Linked DNA regions of Homo sapiens: region 1 is linked to region 2. Evidence: promoter capture Hi-C in 16 types of primary human blood cells and fetal thymus (Javierre and others, 2016). All regions are on one chromosome and are shown on one strand. Each heading gives the region's core, a stretch centred on a gene start or on the middle of the fragment in contact. The rest is flanking DNA. Distances are from core to core; before and after follow the strand shown. Region 1 has its middle 44 kb from the start of MSI2. Region 2 holds the start of CCDC182 (coiled-coil domain containing 182).

Region 1 (2,700 bases), core at 82-2,581, 530 kb before region 2:
AGAAGGAAAAGTGTTTACTGGAGGAGAGGGTGGCTGCAGCTCCCTGTGGCAGAAGAAATCACTGTGTTTGAGCCATCATTGCACCACTACAAAGGTCAAAAGTGTGCTCTTCCAAATAACTCAGGAAGGGTGGGGTTGCTTTAAAAGAACCCTGCCCACTGAACTTCTTGCATGGAGCAAGGAGACTTCAGCAGAAAAAGGTGGAGGGCATACTGTCAAGTGCCTGACGGAGGGGGAGGGAGATCATAGCAGTTAGCCTACGAGACCTCCTACCTGGGTTAAAGGATGCAGTCATAGGGCCCAGGAGGGGAACTTCCAGCATCCCATGCTAGCCCTGAGAGAAGAGTCAGCTCTAGGCGTCTGACACAGCCAGTACCATGACTAGCCCAGACTCTTCCTGCACTGCCCCCACCCCCCATAATCCTAGGGGAGCCAAAGAGAGCCAGGCAGGGAGAGTGGAGGTCCCAGGAGGCACCCTCAAGGGTGAGCCATCAGGCAAAACTTCTATGGATTTCTGGAAGCTCCAGTCCAGGGAATCAGTTTCCAAAACTTAGTAAAAGGAAGATGAAATATAATGAAACTCATTATTTTTTTCCTTTAGATAAACATGAATTATTCACTAAAGATCTAAATTCTGATTTATTACAGCTTCAGATTTATCAGGGAGAAAAAGTGTGGGGTTTTTTTTTCCCCCTTTTTGTCTCCGTCTCTGGAGGGGAAATATGACCTCACCGTGCTTAGCAATACAAACACTAAGTGTGATGGTCACCTTTAGTCATGGAAGAGGGTGAACTGCCTATGGGCCAGGGTGCTAAACAGTGTGGTTATTTACATAGTTCTGGAGTTGGTCGTGAATGCTAATGCTCTCATGCCTCTGCTGCCTGAATGTGGGAATTGTCCTCTCCAATGGAGAGAAAAATATATGACCTTTTGTGAAGATCTTAATGTCAGCTGTTACATTCCTTTCAAAGGGCGTTAGTGGTCTAATTAACCTACCTACTGATTCTGAAATCTGACCTTCACAAGACAGTGAGGTGGTGAAGTTCTCTCTGAACCTGGTTGGGGAGGGGTAAGGATGAGATCGTCCTGTGGCCAAGGAGTTAAACCCAAGGATGGGTTTGATTGAGCCCATGGCTTGGTTGAGGTCCTGTGTATGTTATTCCTTTTGTTCCAAGAGCTGCATTACCCCCTCATGACAAGTCGCTGTTGGAGGTCACTGGGGCACCAAGAGCCCAGCCGAAGCAGGTGACTCCAACCCTCAGAGACAGAGGGCCCTCAAGTGTCTGAGCTCACTCCACTGCGAAGACTGCAACATTGCTTTGTTAACCTGGGGAGTGATGTCAGATTTAATTTTGCTGTCAAAGGCTTCGTAAACCTCAGATGAAATGTATTCCAGAACCTAAATAATTCTTGCTGTTGTTATTGTTGTCCCTGAGATCAGGTCTTTTGTGATAATCTTTCATGACACTGGGTACAACCATCCAACCCCCCCAGTGAAGGATGACTGGCTTGGTCAGTGTTGGCATGAAGGTAATCCATGACTCTCTCTCTCTCTTAGTGTAAACATATCTTCCCGGAGATTTGGCTTCAGACTTAGGATGGGAAAAGGAAGAAAGTGAAAAACATCTCACTTTAAACATATACTGAGTGCTATTTAAGTGCACCCTAAATACCCGCATCTACTTTATTATTTTAATTTAATTTGTATTATTATTATTTTTAGAAATGAGATCTTGCTCTGTCATGTAGGCTGGAGTACAGTGGTACTATCCTAGCCCACTGCAGCCTCAAACTCCTGGGCTCAAGTGATCCTCCTGCCTCAGCCTCCTGAGTAGCTGGAGTAACAGTTGTGCACCACCATGCCTGGTTGATTTTTTTTTTTTTTTTGGTAGAGATGGGGTCTTGCTATGTTGCCCAGGCTGGTCTTGAATTCCTGGGCTTAAGTGATCCTCCTACCTTGGCCTCCCAAAGTGCTGGAATTACAGGTGTGAGCCACTGTGCTTGGCCCCTCCACATTTATTTCAGCCCTCATCACTCAACTGGTATAATACTTACTGGGTTAGGGGCCTGTACCCCTGTATCAGCTAGGACTCCTTTTTGCAAGTGTGAGAAGCCAAGTTGAGGCTTCTGTAACTGAAAAGACGAGACAGTGAGAAATCTTCAGGCATGGCTAGATCGAAGGGTTCAAATCATGGCAACAGTACTCAGTCTCCAACTTTCCTCATTCTGCTTCTGGTTGGTGTCATTCTCTACAACAGATGACCCTCCCAAATCTCCAGGATTACTTTATCTCTATAGCCAACAGTTCCAATTTGAGTGAGAAGACAGCTCATTTTCCCCAAAACTGACAAAAACAACGACCACAAAAAACAAAAACAACAAAAAAAGCCAACCTTCAGACTTAAATCCTATTGGTCTCTTAAAGGTCACATGCTCACGTCTGAGCCAATCAGTGCATCCAGGAGCTTGAGTGGCCAGGCCTGGGTCAACCTCTCAGTCCTCGGACCAGGCCTGGGTAGTCAGTTCCAACTGAACTGCGGGGACCAAATGTGAGAAGGGTGGTTCCCTGAAGGAAAATCCAGGTGTTGTCATCCAAAAGGAAGGGAGTGGATGCTGGGCAGAAAACCACAACTGTTAAGAGCAAATCTTGGCTCTGCCTTTCTGAGCTCTTTAAGCTTGGGCAAGTTACTAAATGTTGCT
Region 2 (2,741 bases), core at 138-2,637:
CCACTTACTAGTGTGCAGACCTTGGGTACTGGACTTGCCTTCCTGCGGCCAGTCTCCCAGTGTGAACCATGGAAAATCAACACTCACCTCCAAGGTGCCTATGGAAGTAAGTGGGATGGTATGTGTGTGTTGCCTGATAAATGGCCAGGCACTGTGACAATAATTCCTGCTCCATGGATCGAACACAGAAATCAGTTTCCCCACTTCCTAGTGCCATCTCAGAGGTGTTGCATTATCGGTTGCTAAAGCTCAGCGAGTTCCACCCACACAGTCCCAATAAGCTCTGTCATTCCGATTGGCCAGTCTGCAGTCTAAATGGAAAGGAAGTAGAGGTAGAAAGAGGCAGCAAAGAAAAGTGAGATGTGACAGTCTAAGAGTAGAGGCAGACAGAAAGACCATACAGACAAGGGTTAGAATACTAAAAACAGAGCAATCTGGGGTAGTGTTAGTGCACGGGCAAGCAGTCCGACCCCTCTGGGGAGATCATGTGTTACGTGATGTGGTATCAGTTGACCAGGTGTTAAGTCTCAAATCATGAAAGCCTCAAATCATTCAAAAAAAAAAAGGTGAATGTTCAACACAATCAGTTTAAGAATATACTATACAAATAAAGAGGTATACATTGAGCAATAGTACCATTACAAACAGGAAAACAGTTCAAGTGAAAGTTACAGGGGCCTGACTCAGTACTGGGGTGCCTCCTTCCTTTAGAATGCTGGATAAATGGAATTTCACCAAAAAAAATATTGAAGTCTTTTTGCCTCTCAGCAAGGTGTTATTTAGGCAGAAGGAAAGCAATGGAAATGAGGAAGGGAAAGCAAGGGGGTAGGGACTTGGGGTTTCTCCTTCCGTTAAAAAAAATCTTCAACTTGGTGCTTGGCTAGTGCCACCCACGAGGTTCAGTCAGCCTGGCTCTTCTTGGTGGCACGCAGGGCGTCACGTCCCCTGTCCAGCAGCAGGTCCTCCAGCCGCTTGCAGTGCTCCCGGAGCTGTTTCTCGCGCGGCAACAGGAAGGTGAGAACCTTGTTGCGCACGATGCCACGGTCCTCCTCCTCCCTTAGCCGCTGCCTCACGCGAGCCGCCTGCTCCTCCTGTTGCACCAGGGCTCCATTCATCTCGCAGAAGGCGTCTTCAAGGTAATGAATGGACTTCAATGCCTCTTTCTTAAAGTCCTCCAGTTCCCGTTGCACCCCGGCCACCTTCTGCTGCAGGATCTCCAAGTCAGCGGGTGGTGGGAGGCAGGAGGGCCATGACTGGGACAGGGAAAAGTCTCCAGACTGGAGGCCACTCTCTATCATTTTTTTCCCCTGTAGGGTATTCACCGTCATGAGAATGGACCCAGCCTGGTAGAGGGGTTCCATTGTCTCTTCTACGTTGGACAAAGAGAGGAAGCCAAGAGACCAACCAGGTCAATAAATATTTTTGGCTAGAGACACGATCATTCGGAGTGGAGAAACCCTAGAATTGTGACATCAGGGCCCCTTCAGCCAACCAGAAAGAAAGCCACAATCCATTCATTTGCATATTGTAGCTTCCTTGGTTGGTTACCTAGAGCTTTGTCTGTTTATCTGACCAAGTCGCCCTCCTGAGATGTGGATCCTTAACTCATCACCCTTCTAGAACCAGAACTCAAGTTCTTCTTTAACCTAAGGAACAAACCAAGTCCCAGAGCAGGGAAGTAAACTGGCCAGAGCAAGGCAGGCCAGGCCAGGCTCACTGGCTGCCAGGACTGGGTGGTCTCCCACACTGGCAAGGGACCTGCATGGTCTTGGACTGGTCTCTGGGCTTTAGTACCTCACTAGTAAAACAAAGACATTGTAAGAGATGATACCTAATCCCACTTGTAGCTCTAAAATGCTAAAAAGTAATCTCTTATTCCAAGTCCATACTCCTATAATGATGTCAGAATTCTATAAAATCTTAGAAATTGCGAAAAATGTACTTAGATTTTGATGTATGGTCCACAGCAATGGCTGATTCAGCAGGTGCAAGGTAAAAATGGGTTAGTCATATTTATTCAATAAATACTAAGTGCTCACTACACACTAGGATCAGGGAACAAGTGAGTGCATGGTCTTCCAACATACCTGAATGTTAACAAATATGAGAAACAACACATAGAAAGGTAAATCTTGTACTTTTTACCTGATAATTAGAACAAAGGAAAATACTTCTAGCTAATCTACATTTGGTTTAGTCAGGAACAAACCTTCATCTTGCACATCTCAGTCTCTTGCCTAGACTTCTCTCCTGGTCTCCAAATCTAAACGTCTCCCCCACAATGGGCCTCCAATTCAAGCCATCCAAAGCTGAATTGGTGATCTCTTTACCCAAACCAGTTCCTGTTCCAGTGTTGCTGTCAGATTAATGAGAGCAACCCAGAACAGCACACACACCAGAGCCCTCATGAGACAACTGGTGCTGTGATGCTAATATTTGTCCCCTCCCAAACTCATGTTGCAATTTAATTACCATTGTAACAGGATTATGAGGAAGGACCTTTAACAGATGATTAGGCTACCCTTTAAGAGATAAATGGATTAACACTGTTATCTTGGGAGCAGGTTCCTTATAAGTGGATAAGTTCAGCCCCTTTATGTCTCTCTCTCACCCTCTCTTTGCCCTTCTACTATGTGATGTCTTCTGCTGTGGAATGACACAGCAAGAAGGCCCTTGCCAGATGCCAGCATTTTGATTTTGGACTTCCTAGCCTCCAGAACTGTAAGGAAATACATTTCTGT

Evidence for each region. The method cuts DNA at HindIII sites, captures the fragments that hold promoters and counts their contacts. A CHiCAGO score of 5 or more calls a contact.
Region 1: a contact is called between a fragment that was not itself captured here and the fragment with the promoter of CCDC182 in region 2, in 7 of 17 cell types (naive CD8 T cells, total CD8 T cells, naive CD4 T cells and 4 more). The highest score is 9.0, in naive CD8 T cells.

Annotation. Positions count from the first base shown.
Region 1 is chr17:57,210,937-57,213,636 of GRCh38, forward strand. No RefSeq gene overlaps it. Among named protein-coding and RNA genes, the nearest start is that of MSI2, 44 kb to the right of the region's middle. The HindIII fragment of the contact is 2,683 bases long and covers 1-2,673 here.
Region 2 is chr17:57,743,912-57,746,652 of GRCh38, forward strand. CCDC182 (coiled-coil domain containing 182) reads right to left here and starts at 1,388. Exons shown (of 1, transcript NM_001282544.2): 1 at 584-1,388. The coding sequence starts at 1,361. The coding sequence ends at 900. The HindIII fragment of the contact is 19,296 bases long and covers 1-2,741 here.